Linked DNA regions of Homo sapiens: region 2 is linked to region 1. Evidence: promoter capture Hi-C in 16 types of primary human blood cells and fetal thymus (Javierre and others, 2016). All regions are on one chromosome and are shown on one strand. Each heading gives the region's core, a stretch centred on a gene start or on the middle of the fragment in contact. The rest is flanking DNA. Distances are from core to core; before and after follow the strand shown.

What was found. Contacts are between HindIII fragments. The CHiCAGO score rates a contact against its expected background, and 5 or more counts as called.
Region 2: a fragment that was not itself captured here is called in contact with the fragment with the promoter of LINC02118 in region 1 in 4 of 17 cell types (M2 macrophages, erythroblasts, M0 macrophages and 1 more); the score reaches 6.7 in M2 macrophages.

The regions. Positions count from the first base shown.
Region 1 is chr5:52,005,197-52,012,744 of GRCh38, forward strand. LINC02118 (long intergenic non-protein coding RNA 2118) reads left to right here and starts at 2,835. Exons shown (of 4, transcript NR_147166.1): 1 at 2,835-2,882; 2 at 4,619-4,653; 3 at 6,375-6,406. The HindIII fragment of the contact is 14,911 bases long and covers 1-7,548 here.
Region 2 is chr5:50,988,423-50,995,970 of GRCh38, forward strand. No RefSeq gene overlaps it. Among named protein-coding and RNA genes, the nearest start is that of LINC02106, 22 kb to the left of the region's middle. The HindIII fragment of the contact is 1,660 bases long and covers 1,882-3,541 here.

The DNA of each region.
Region 1 (7,548 bases), core at 1,585-4,084:
ACTTTCAACTTTGTATCTTGGGTGCATAACACAGAACCTGGTCTTTATTAGGAATGCAATAATGGATTGTTGAGTAAATGAGTAAATTAGACCACCAACTATTAACCAAATATAGAAATCAATGAGAGCTGTGAAGCCATGCACCAACAAAGTAGGTTTAAACCTTTGATTAATGTCCTGATGTATGAAGGATGGGATTTAGATACTCAACATACAGCAAAAGTGTACCCAAGATGGTGTGGTACTATCCCCAACTCCTCTCTTTTACCCCTTCTAATCAGGAATCATACCACAATGCAGGTGAGTAAGAGTTATGATCTTTAGAAATAAACCATGAATATGTATTTTAAAAAATAAGAAAATCATTTCTAAATTTTTTGTAATTCCTTCAGAGGTATGCTTCTAAAAGGAAATGATTATGAAGGAAATTGTCTCTATAATGGTTAAATGCACTACTGTTTTTTACATGAGGAAATATTTTTGTTTAAGCACAAGACAGAGTGGCATTACATTTCCTGGAATTTATTATTAGTCAATAATAAACTGACTTTGCCAGTAATGTTATCTTTCATTCTTGGAAATTCACAATGAATGTTGAATGTTGAAGTATCTGAAAAGTCTTGCAGTTGAGATACAGCTTGGTAGGGATCTGAAAAGCATATGTATTAGCTACATACCAATTATAATCATTTTTTACCTAAGAAAGTCCTGAAGTTTAACTTGTCTACACTTTCAGTTAAACCTTTGATTTTCTAATATTGATCTAGAAAATGATTTACTAGAAGATTCTCAATTATAGAGGAGTCCAGCTTTCACCCAGAGGAGGAGAATGTAGAAGCTGGCTCCATATTAGGAAAGCATTTTATTAGTTTGAGATAATTTTAGTGCCCAGGTATATACTTCCATAGTATATTTTGTCTATACATGCATTACATTTATTTACTGTCCTAACAGAGGAGAGTTGAGCAGAATATATGACTTAATAGTACTTATCATCTATCTTATAGTACTAAGTTTAATTCCTTTTTATAGTGTTAGGATTGATTAAGTTACATTAAGCTATCAAACAAGTCCAAAATCTCAGTGGCCTAAAACAATAAAGATCTATTTTTGGACCATGCTACATATCTGTTCTGGTAAACTAGGGATTTTCTTCCACTTTGACTTCACCAAATGATTGAGGCTGATGAAGAAGCCACAGTTTGGAAACTATCATTTTGACAATTCCATGTTTCTGCTTGGAAGTGACATAGATCACTCTCACACTTGTTTCTTTGCTAAAGTAAGTCACACACACATATGACATCAAGGGAACAGGGAAACACACATTTCTCTTTTACTCAGAAGTTAAGAAGAACCTAATATTACCTAACAGTAGTAATGCTACCATATTAGTCCATATTTATGAGACTATATGCCAAATTAGAAAATAATTACTTAAAATAAAATAATAGATTTATTTAAAAACAAAACAAACAAAAAAACATGAGAAGACCAAAGACTGCACCTAGCCTATGCTGTGGTTGTTTGGAAGAATGACATTAAAATCCCAGAATGACAGCAGTAACCATTATATTACACATCACTTAGAAGATTTTACAACAAAAATCTAGTATCACAGCATAGCAAATATTCCTATAAACTTTCTCTCCACAGATAAGGCATTCTGATTGCTTTGCATTTCCCCATAAAATCTATTTTTCAAACTTTGCACTGAGAAACACTTGTTATTTTGCAAAAGCCTTTACAAAACCTTCAACTTACAATTCCTTAATTGATGGGATAGATATAGCGGAGAGTCACATGTAGTCCACAGAATCATTTAAATTTTCTGCCTTAAACATATTGCAAGGGTGATAACATTTTACAGGTTCTCATTAACTGTCTTGATAGTGTTATAAATTGATGTTTGGCAAAGAGCAGTTTCTAATATACACGAATAATTTGAGAAGGATAGTGGAGATGGTATACTTATATCGCTGTACATATATAACTCATGAAAAGGAAAGATAAGGCCCAAAGAATGCCTGATTTAGTTTGGTGATGCAAGGTAAATCCACTAAGATTTGGTTTACTAAGAGCATGGAAAGTATTCTAATATACAAAGAGGTTTGTTCTTTTGTTGAAGTTTTGAACTTTTAGAGACAGAATCCTTGGTGTTAATTTAGACAAGCTGCACATCCCAAACCTGCACTAGGACCTTGGTTAGCTGCATATTCTGGGGGAAGATTGCCACCTACTGGAATACCAGCAGCATTCCCTCAGGTTTTATGGTCGATGTAAATATGGCTCCTTTAAAATAACATACCTTCCCACATTTATTTCAACGCAAACTCCTAGATATGAAATTAGTGTATTCTTCCTCTGAAGTAAGCTCAATATGACCTGCTCCAACCGTCAGCTGCTAATCCTCCCTGTTCCAGGTATCAATCCTACAGTTCTTTGGGGGTATGATAGACGAAGTTCTGGTTTTCTTAATTGCCAGGTAGGCATCAGTTGATATCCTGCCGCAATCAAACCCAGCTATTACCTAATAGATAACCACTCTAAAAGAAAAAAAAGTAGCATGATATTTAAAAAATTTGAATGCTTGGAGCAGTTTTACTGTCTAAAAAGTGTTCACCTTTGAAATATGTTTTTGACCACATATTACAAGTTTGTGAACAAGAAAAATAATACTACAATTTAAAATGTATTCATATAAGCAGCAAAACTGTTGGTGATTCGTCTAGGCAAATGGCATACAGCCAAAATTATACTTTTCCATTCTGTTGTCACAGTGTGGACTTTTGTAACATAGCAAGGGATTTCAATGCCATCTTTTGAGTATTGAATGAAGGGTGAATTTGAGACCACTTACAACTCCATCATCAATTTTAAAGGTAAAGTTGTTATAAATGTTATTGGGTTGATAAAACTTAATGGTTTGAGCAGATGAGCATACGGAAAGGTGAGAAGAGGATTTAAAGACACAGAACAGCAGCATGAGGAAGAGTGCCAACTGGAGGAGTAGATCCATAATAAGAGAGGTGACTGATAAGAGAAAATGGGATAGGAGTAAGGGATTAAGGATAGCTATTGGAAATGAAGGTAAAAAGCTGAGATAGTGTCTATGGAGGAGGCAATGTGATATAGAAAGAACAAAAAAGCCAAATCAAAACTTTGGAATTGCATAGACCTGGGTCATCAGCAGGTCTGCTTCAACTGCTACAAGCTGAGAATAACAATTTCCCCATACTTTTTACTTCTATTAAGTTAGAGAGTATCTATGAAACACTGAAGCTCTTGAAATATAGAGTAAACATTTTTCATTTCAGTAAAGAGTTTAAAAGAAAAATACAAAATTAATAAAGATGAAAAGGAAGGTCAATACAAAAGAACTTCAGAAAGAAGAGCTGAGATGAAAAGAATTAAAATAGCAATAGCGATAAGAAAAATCAGATCTTGATGAGAAAATTGATGGGGTAATAAAAACAGTAATTGTTCAACACGATGCCCATATTATCAAAAGAAAGTAAAATATGCAGGCAGACAACATTTGCATTGGCCAAACCACACCAAATAAACAATTTAGCTATTCGCATGACTTTCTATCCACGTGAAAGAAATTTCCATTTATCAGCTGTAAATTTTTAACTCACTTCTCTTTGAGCTACACTTTCACTTTTCAACAACTTTCTGGACGTTTTGGTTTAAATGCCTCACCAAAATCTTCAACTCCAAATGTCAATAATGAAATTTTGTTGTCTTCATTATTAAATTTGACCCTCTCTCCCTGATTCTTTTACTTGATAATTAGCATCACAATTCTCCCAGGACAGTGGCCACTTAATTTAGTACTTCTACTTTTCCTCTTTCTCTCTCTTCACCTTTCCCATGTGGAAAACCACATACCATATTTATGGTAGTGATAATGATGAAAACTAGAATATATATATTATTTTAGAATTTATCCAACATTATTTAAACTTTTTCTAAAGATTCTTCTGCTGAATCTATCTCTCTATATCTGTTTGAATTTTTTCCCTTAAATTATATGCTTCTTAACATGTCAAGACCTTCCATGATCTTATACAACTTGGTTTTTAGATTAATTTTCTTTATATCTTCCCAATATCCTGTTCCAACCTGTTTTTTCTCCAAGATAACTGGTTTTGTCTTTCTCCCTGGGTATTGAAAGCCCATTCATATTTCAAGACCCTGATTTGATGCTATTTTCTCTATGATCATTTCCCAGTAGCAGGCCAGCCACCCAGAAGTTGCCAGATGCCAGTTTCTTCTACCACTCAGAACATTACTAGAATTAACTGGAGTTGTTTCTGACCAAATGGATACATATACACACACATATATGTTCTCAATTACTCATAGTGATTTAAATTTAATGTTATTAAGAAATTCATTACATTGCTACTTTGAGGCCAAATAATACATAGTGTAACCCTGCTTATTTGAAATTAGTGATCTATTTTATAATCAAAATGTTAAGTCTTCCCAAGTTAGTTATCTGTTTAGAGCAGGAATTTAAAAAAAAAGAAAAAAGAAAAGAAATAAAGAGGTAATAGGGACCACATAGAATTGGTTAATTGTTTTTTTTTTTTTTTTTAATTTCTTTCAGAACAGTGACTCTTCATTGGCCAGTGGAAGAAATTAGTAAGTGAATTTATTTCTGTACATAATATGTATGAATAGAAAAAACACTTTCTGTCGGTATCCACTAAGTAAATACTGAACAAATAATTAATATGTTTTGAAAGACCTTGACTGTATTAGGCTTTGTAATGTTTAGAGTCCTCTTAGTTTATGTTTCTTATATTTACTGTTTTTTTTTTTTTAAGAGTTTAGCATAGGTTTGCCTTTTCCCCTAAGTCTTAGGAAGGCAGATTTTCTGTCTTAGACAACACTGTGGTAGAACAAAAATATGAACAATTGAGACATGGAAGTCAAGAACAATACTCTCCATGTTAGTTTCTGGGCGCACAGCCTAGTAAAAATTGGCATTTTGTCTTATGGTTATCATTGGTGATATAGATGAAATGAGTTATGAAGACTTAACAATTAACCTGAATTTTAGGTTATTACACTATCACTAATGACATAAAATACTCAGGACTTCATACACACACACAAACACACAACAAATCAGACTTAAAGGTAGAAACAAACTCAGTCTATTTACTCAGTAAAGACTATTGTGTTCATAAATGCAAGTGTTAAAAAACGAATATACCCTCAAAGCAGCTGTATGAGTTTTTTAGTATTTTTTTCTGAATTTTAGATTTATAAAAACCATGTCTCAGCTGCTACCTTTCAACAATTTTACTCTGAGGCAATAAATAATTCAATGTGCTAATTTGACAGATGACTCTCCAGGAGCCTCCTACCATTACTAGCATCATTAGGCCATAATATGCATGACGAGGATGGGCCATTCAGCAAATGTCCTTCACTTGTTTACCCCTAAAGAGCTGTGCTCTGCACAATTAACTAATGAAGCATTATGGGCCTTTTTTTTTCTTCCCTGCTATTTCAATATATCAGTGCAAAGAGTCGAGGGAAAATACAGTCTGTTTCCTTTGGCTAGATCAGTATTTATGGGATGGTTAAGACTGCACTGTAGCTCCCAGATGAATAAGGTGAAAATAATAAGATGGTCAAAATAGATCATTGCCATCATTATTATTATTTCCTTTTCCTTCCATGATTTGTGAAAAAAATGTTAAAGGAATTTGGTGTTGAAATGCAAGAACGAGATAAAAAATACCCAAAACAGTGCTCAAATTTTCTGCTTAACATTTGCTGATTATCAAGAATTTGTACACTGTCCTCATCAAGTTAGGTAATTTTATGTTCACCTAAAACCTTGACCACATGTTAATTTTCTCAGATTTCTATTCAAGTTTAAAATTAAATTCCAGTTAAAAAATATTGAAATAAGAGTGTGAATATGGGCTTTGGTGCATATGAATCTCCTCTTACCATCCAATTCAACAAGGCATGTGCCTACAAAGGTTCAAATGAAGTCACTAAGTCCACGTCTAAACAGTTTCATCCTGCAAAATTGGGTTAAACAAAGAAACCTCATCTGACTAGACTGCTGTTACTGTTTCAATGAATTATTTGATTGCCAAGACATTTTGTTGCTCAGAAAAAGTGGCTTAAGGTAGAAGTGAGTTTAGGGACCTCTTTGTTGCATTTAGAGTGTATTATAGGTTCTTAGTTTAAAAATTATGACATCCTTTACCATTCCTAGTATTGTTTTGTGCTTTAGAGTGAAAAAAATGAACTCTGCTCGAATCATGTCAATTGACATAATAATTGATAGGTCCTAGGAAAAGAACAGTTACATTCTTCTCTTTCCAACCTTCATCCAGACCCACAATGATGTTGATGCTATTTCTAAGAGGTAAGAGTCACAACTATTCTTCTTAGATGTAAAACTATTTTATCCAGTTGAAAATATAGTTTCAATGATAATTATTATAATGCTTCTTTTTCCCCAAAGAAACTAATAATACATCATAACAATCATTGTGATATTAATAATAATTAGATAGCTATAATTTATTAAGTGCCAGTTTAGTCTGAGCCCTTTGTTACATGCATGAGAAACATGAAAAAATGGTGTGAAGGGCTCGTTGGTTCTTTTACGAACTTTGAGGTTAGAAAAATTTTCACATTAAAACAGGAAGAGAACCATTATATTTTAAGAGTTCTGTAGACAAATTCTGGTATATTATCAATCTCCTGTCACCTTTATGGGAATGCTCAAAATCACTACTACTATATACTTCCTCATACTATTCCACTTGAAAAATCAATCTATTCATTTCTTCTTTCAGTAAAATCAATTTTAAACATGCTAACCCAGTAATAAGCAAATTTAGTGGAAAAATAATTTAAACCCTTTATAAATATAAATGTTCCCAGTGGTCTTACTATAACCTGGTAAATTACAGAATCAGTGAAAATCTGATATTTCTGATATTTTGTATTTAAAAAATTGAGTGCCATTAATGTTTTTTAAATATTTGTTTTTCAATCCACATATAAAAGTGGAATAAAATTACTAGAGCATGTAAAATGTATTTTTTCAAAATGTACTTACAAATGGAAAAGACTACTTGAATGCCAAGGAAAGCAGTAGTTTCTTTGCTTTTATATTGGAGAGAAGGTCATGCATCATCTCTGTAGAACATCCTATCCATAAAAATCTGAGGAACATTTGTAAGGAGTGGGAACACTTCCAAAAAATTATGCTGGAGGAATTTCACAAGACTGAATGTATTTAATGCAAAATTTCTTTAGAAAACATAAAAATCACCTTTTTATACCCATTCTTTTCTTTTCCTTACTTTCCATGCCCATCCTTTCCATATGAAACCTTCCATATGGTTTGCTTAAATTCTTCAAATGTAATGAAAAATTATTATCATAAAGGTCCAATACATACTTCAAATTACTATTGCTATTTGAACTATGTATTGGACCTTTTAGTCTGGTATTTGTAACTCAGACATTTTATAAAGCAGAAAAGAGACCAAAATA
Region 2 (7,548 bases), core at 1,462-3,961, 1.0 Mb before region 1:
GAGCAGTCATATTTTATTCATTTCATGGCCTGAGGTGAATTTCTTACTTTTGATAATTTTTCTCATCTACATAGTGAAATAATAATAGCTCAGATTTTTATAGAGTATGCGAATACATTTTTGTAAGTCCCTTTGAAAATAGAAGTGTCACATAAATGCAAAGTATCTTGATAAGAATACCACTGAAGGAAATAATATCTCTGAGCCAACAGGGCCTCCCACAAAGGAATTGGATGCCATGTAAGTTTCAGCTTGGACAATAGAGTCCTGTAGTGCTTAGTTTTCTTTATATTCTGATCATAGAAATGTGTCCAATTTTACACACTTTCTTCTTTCTGCTCTTCCACTACTGAAATGGAAATTTGATGAAAGATTTGATAAGTGGAAGAACAACAGTGGCCACATTTGGCTTTGGGGGAATGTAAAACAAAAAAAAATAAACCTTATTCATCCAAGTAGATTCTGGGGACACCAAAAATATTTGTGTGCCTATTTGAGCAGAAATCATATTGCTGTTCAAAGAGAAGGGGTGTGCTCCCAAGATTCTCTGTGAGGAATTTGCTGGTGGCTGTTTTCTGAGGAGGAGTGACAGTTTCACTTTAGGCTGTTCACTAAATTCCAGTCTTCTTAAGAGGTGTGCAAGTTCATGTTTTAGTCTTTGGTTTATAAAAATTTTCAGATAAATGGGCAGCTCTAAGGCCATCTATAAGGCCAAGAATTATAAGATTATCTGTTAGAACTAGATTTCTCAGGTACCTTTTCTGTTCCAAATTTTTTCTTTCCTAGCAATCCATGTAATTAAGAGTAAAATCTGATACTATGTTCATTTGAAGAAATCTGAATCATTGATATTTCTTTCAATTCTAGGACAAAACAAATGTGGAAAAGATATTTTGAGGCATATAACACCGGTATTCTTTTCTCATTAGATATAATTACAGTAGATGTGATTTATATAAATATAATTCAATAAGTAAATGAGTGAGCTATAGGAAAAATTAGTTTTGGTCTAATTTTAGTTTTCAAGACCACTTTTCTGTCCTAGCTATGAGTTAGTTATGAACTTGATTATATGGGATTTTAGGTAAAAGAGTTGCATTTTGTGGTGAAATGAGGTGAAAGGGTAATCAATATGCCATAGGCAGAACTCTACTACAGTCCCCAAGATTCCTGGCCCCTGGTGCATACACATACACACACACCTTTTCTCAGTTATTCCAACACCAATCTATGTACTACTATGAGGGGATTTGCAGATATAATCTAGGTCCCAAATAAGTTTACCTTAAGATAAGGGGATTACCCAGGTGGGCCTGACCTAATCACATGATCTCTTTAAATCTGGATTTAGAGTTCAAAGATTAGAGACGTCAGAGATTTGAAGCATGAAACCAAAGCATTTCTGGCTTGACGATGGGGGTGGCCACATGGCAAGGACTGCATCTAGGTGTCCAGAATAGCCCCTGCTTGGCAGCCATCAAAGAAACAGGGATCTCAGTCCTACAATTGCAACGAACTTAATTCTGTCAACCACAAAAATGAGCATGGATATGTACGTTTTGCTGAAGCCATCAGATGAGAACAGCCGGGCTGACCAAGACCTTATCTTCAGCCCTTGCAGTACCCTGAGCAGAGAACTCAGTCACTTCTGTCCTACAAAACTATGAGCTAATAAATGGATGTTGCTGTAAGCTGCTAAGTTTGTAGGATCTTCTTACACAGAAACAGAAAACTAATACGTGATAAAATTAGTATCACATTTGTATTTAATTTTAGCTCATGGCCACAGCAAGAAAGAACAATGAACTGACTCTTGAGATCGTTTGTTTGATACACTAGCATGCAATCGTTTTTATCTAGATACATATTTGTCATGCTTCAAGCTTCAGGAACCAACAGGAACAATGTAGATGGCATTTTCAGTAATACACTGATCGCTCTGCTCAGAAACGCTATCTAATCAGTGGAAGAAAATCCAACATCTTCTAGGCGGTTCTCTCCCCAAATGTTTCTGAGATGCCCTCAGTTGTGAGGGCTGCGTATGTGTAATCCTGTGGTTGGGTGATTAGCACGGTGGCTTTCCCTCTCAGAGTGTCAGGGCCCCTTTCTGAAATGCCACATTCCTTTATTCCATGCCCACCTTTGTGTTGCTGATCTTGGGCCATGTGCACCGATTGTTAATTTCTTTCAGGCACCTGCCTTTTCCACTGCCTGTGGGGCCCTGTGCAGTCTGTTGCTTGCTCCGAATCGTGCGCAGAACACGCAGGGTGTGATCTCAGGCCGTGGCCTCTGTACTTTCTCTCCCTTCCTTCAGCTTTCACAATGTGCCGCTGGGTCTCTGCAGCTTGTCTTTCTGTTTCTGGCCACTAGCACAAATCTTTTTCTGTTTCGGATGGGAGAGGCAGGAGAAAGGGGGTGATGAAGAGTAGCGCTTCATTGACCTCTAGGGATGAATTCTGGCTCTTTTTGGCATAGCCGTTGACTTCCTCAGAGTGTCAGGCTCTCCAAAAAGATGGGGTCCGGGGTGGTCAGGGACTGCCTGAAAGCCTTTCTACAAGCAACCAGGCCCACCTGCTGAGTCTAGCTCCCATCTGCCACTACTCACAGGGGTTTCCCCCTCAGAGGCTTAGTTTTCCTCTCTGAAATCCATTCAGCCATGTTTGTGTGGGTCTAGATTTCAATGATAGACACACCTTAGTCCTTTCCCATGAACTCCTGGCTTCAGTCAAACCAAGGAGGTGATTGGACATTTATTTGAGTCCCAAATACTTTATGATAGGAATTTGTTCACTAAAAACATAAAAAAGGGAGATGGGGGAGCAGTGTGAGGGCTGGGGTTGCCTAACTCTACCTACAGCTAGCCTGGCTGGATCTGAGGGGCAGTCAAGCTAGAACAACCATAACTCTTATTTAAATAGCATTTCTGAACTTTATCTGTAGACAAGCAACTAAAAACATAGCCTACACCTGGTTCCCCAGTGCAATGTGAAAGACTTCAGAAACTAAAAAATATTTATGAATTGCAAATATACATGCAATTACTAATGATTTCCACTTGATTGCAGTTCTTAGCTTCTAAATTTAGAATTCTAAATAATCAATCATGGACAGACCATCACTTTGTTAAATTTCTGTCACGACAATTAACCAGAAATGAACCATTGTTTTGTTTTGCTTTCTGAGAAAAGGGCATTTAGGAATTAAGTTTACACTGAGTGGATATAGTTGCCTTTGTTGTGCACCTGCAGTGTCTCTAAATGTAAGTAACTTCCATGGATTTAAACCTCAGGGTAAACTTTTACTACAGATGAATTATCTGTTGAGTTAGGAAGTAAAGAGATTAAACAATAAAAGAACCCATTTTACCATTGTGCACTTCCCTATGTGCTTTTGTGGGAAAAATAAATATCATAGGATAAAGGGACAGAAATGGATTATGGTAGAAAATAAATACAAAACAAAATGCAAGTGACTCTTCAGCTCTCAAAATGTCTCTGGCTTGAAAGGCACAGAGTCTGTTTAAGGTGTTCATTGTCTTGAAAGCTTTTTAATTTTTTTTAATTTTTAATTTTTTGAGTACATGGTAGGTGTGTATATTTATGGGTTCCATGAGGTATTTTGATGCAGTCACTCAATGATAATAATCACATCAGTATAAATGGTGTATCTATCATGTCAAGCATTTATCCTTTGTGTTGAAAGCTTTTTTAAAAAACATACATTTTATTGAGATATACTTTATATTAAATACATTATTTTGGCCAATTGAACTTAAAAAAAAAATAGTACCTGGTACCTTTAAAGGCAACTAACAGAGTTAGACTTAGGACTCTATTTAATTGTTTGACCCTTTCCCTGGAAGATAGTTTTGTGAAAGGATTAGCTTTGGCACCTTAAAACTACATTATTCTCTGAAAAATACAGAAAACATTGATGCAAATACTTATTCTTTAGCACAGCTAAAGTAGAATAATCACCTCTATTTTTGTTCATTAGATTACACGTTTAAAAGCTGTATATTAAATACCTAGTGACATTGTTATTTTTCTACTGTTATTCTTGGAAACAATCTTGTGAAGAATTTTTCTTGGCTCCTTTTGAGTTTTTCTTTCTCCCTCAAAATGTATGTGATAATTCATGTGCATGCATTCATATGTATATATTATCAGTTTGAACTGATTACATATTTTACAACCAACTAGATTATGTTGGTCTCATCATCTCACACATACTACCTTACCTCACTCATTACTCAACATACTGGCCCAAAAAGCTGCAATATCACACACAAATGCACACACACACACACACACACACGCAAACAGAATCACACAAAAAATAGAAGCCAAAAGAAATGGTGATGAGGTTTAGAGTTGTCATTGTCCCAGACATTCCTAATACTTTATAAAAACAAAAGTAGTATGTCTAATTTCTGCTTTAGGGTTGTTAAGTTGGATAAAAATAAGTCACCTAATCTTGCAGCTTTACTAAAAGTATAAGAGAAAAAAATGAGCTTTTTTCTTATCATTCATGAATCCAAGAATATTGGTGTGTGCAGTTCTGAGAAAACCCTTTTGTGTCATAAGTTTCAGAGTCTGGTCAATGTAAAAATAATTCTATAAGCCCTGTATCTACTGTCTGAAGCAACTATCACTTCTACACATGTTTAAAAAATCACTTATATCTGAGTTTTAAATCACTGAGACATGAAGTAGAATTTATTTTGTGTGGCTTCCTGGTGCCAATGACTCTATTCTTATTCTACACAGCGTTAGTATTGTATTACTGAATTAGACCGAAAATGCAGGATATGTTGCTGTAATCAGTGTCTTGCCATTAATCACTTCCCTTGTCCCTTTGCCTCACCATCACTCCTTCATGGCAATACCTTAGGGGCTATTTCAATTTTCCACCTCCACTGGTGGATCTCATGACCAAAGGGCTTGGTGCTGTGTGAGTCAGGGTCCAGATAGAAAATAGAAACCAATATCTGTATTTAAAACAAGGGAATTTCATGTGAGAATTGGTTAGCTAGAACTGAAAAACCCACCTGAAGTTGCAAATAAACTCATAGATGAGCAAGAACAGGAAATCACGTTGCACTAGGCTGCAGGGACAAAGGTAGGAGGGCTATTATCAGAAAAAGGGAATGTCTAGGATAGATACGACATTAAATAAAGTTTGAATAGACACAAAAAGCATTAAAGTATTAAGTAATGGCAACTGGAACTTTAACAACACTTCTGTCCTTCTGTAGTCTGTTGATATAGATTGGATGTGTGTCCTCTGCAGATCTCATGTTGGAATGTGATCCCCATTGTTGGAGCTGGGGCCTAATGGGAAGTATTGGTTCATGGGGGCACATCCCACATAAATCGCTTAGTGACATCCCCTTGGTGATAAGTGAGTTCCTTCTTTGAGTTCATGCGGGGTCTGGTTGTCTAAAAGAGTATGGCACCTCTCCCCAGCTCTCTCTTGCTCCTTCTCACCATATATCATGGTAGTTCCCATTTGCCTTCCACCATGATTGTAAGTTTCCTAAGGCCTCACCAGGAACAGGTGCCAGCACCATGCTTCCTGCATAGTTGTTCACTCTTATTCTTCAGAATGGCTACTGCAAATATTGTCCAGATGTCAAAGCTCCCTACTCCACTCTGTGCCCCTCCTACACTCAACTTGTTAACTCTTTGCTCCCGATGCAAACTCACTTGTCCTTTCTGTCACCGTGGATGTCTCTCTCCTCCCAGTGCAGTTACCCTCCTGTGATTTGGTTTCCATTTCCTTTCCTTTCATTAGGAACTTTAGATCATTCATTTTAAACTCTCCTCTGTGTCCTTAAGTTTTTCCACTAGTCATTGGTATCGACATTTTAACATGCTCAAGTCTCCTCTATTTCTCCCTCCCTCCAAAAAAAAAGAAAAGAAAAAGAAGAAGAAAAGGCCCACTCCCCCATCCTCCCACTCACAGTCAAGATTTTGCAAACATTGTTCATCCTGACCTCCCATTCACTTCTCAGCTCGCTGGAGTCAGCTCACTGCACTGGATTCTGAATCTTCAGCATCCATTTACATATACATGTAAATCTCTGATTTCTAGTTATCGCTTAGCTTTCATATCAAGAAGCAGAATTGAAGGACTCAGAAAAATACTGTAGTGAATAATATGTTACTGTTTAGAGAGAATCTTCCAAATTTTAGACAGATGCCTTGAGGCTTAATTCAACCCCTTCTCCTTCCACTTTCACCACCAATAGGCTGCAGAACAGTAATTCACTAAGTGAGGCTTTGGGACCTGCAACACCATCACCTAGAAGCTTATTAGAAATACAAAGACTCAGAATGTACCCTAGTCTAGCAATCTGGACTTTAATAATTTATTCAGTTATCCGATGTATGCTAAAGTTTGATAACTACTGAGGAAGGGAAAGCTCTTTTCAGGAAGGAAAAGAAAGTGGAAAATACCAAAGACAAGAGGTAGAGGTAGAATAAGGTTGTTAGGTATGGAGGGAATGGGGAACATCTGGGGCTGAAGGGTGGGGACAAGGGGCATCAAGGGCTGAGGGGTATAGCAGAAACCACCAAGGAGTGATGAAAGATCCTTAGAACGTTACAAGAAGGGTAATAGATGAGTTGGGTGCTTCTCCAGGCAAAACCCTTGGAGGAGATTCATGCACCATGACAAACTGTGGCTCTGAAGAGGCTGTGGCCACAAATGCATTGCAGCCAATGCCTAAATCCCAAACCCACCTTGGTGAGCTGCAAGTACAGCTGGAATGCTAGACCATGTGAACGCTAAGGACAAGAACAGGCAACCGAGGGCACATTCCTTGGTGACTAGAATCAGTTTTCATGGCTGGTTCTGAGCAGTAGTGAATGTTTATATTTGGCCAAAGGTCCATATGCAAGCAGACATAGCTTGGTAGTGAACAGTGCTAGTGCAGAATAAAGTAGGTCCCCACTGCAGAGACAAGAGTATATGAGTAAAGATCTAAGTTATTTCTTCCCCTCCACTAGGAGGACTCAGTAAGCTTGTGTACACTCCCACATCCTAGGGAAGGATAAAGTTGGGGAGGAAACTAATTTGAAAGACTAAAGACTTTATTTGAAAGGGACTTTTGTCAAATGTATTAAGAAACTGTAAACTAGAAGAGCTTGTGTTGTCATTAATTGGAAAGCCTAGGTTTCTCCATTTCTCAGTAGGGTGAGAACTTGTGGAGATGTTTGGATAACTGATGAAAAAAATAAAGAAGCCACTTTTTCTTTGTATCCTGAGGATGCCGGAACATCACCTTTCTTGGTGTCTGCTGCTTTGCACGCTGTTTGCCACTCCTCCCTTGAATGCTTTCTCCCCTTGGCCTCAGTAGCACCAGACTTTCACTGCCTTCTCCTACCTCTAGGATAACTTCTTCTCCATTTGCATAATAGATTGGTCTTCCTCCATTAATTCCTAAAATATTGATATTATACAAAAAGTTATGTCCCCACCTTTTCTCTTTATGCCTCGCAATCTTTGTGTTCTTATTCTTATAAACACAAAATGACTCTGGTG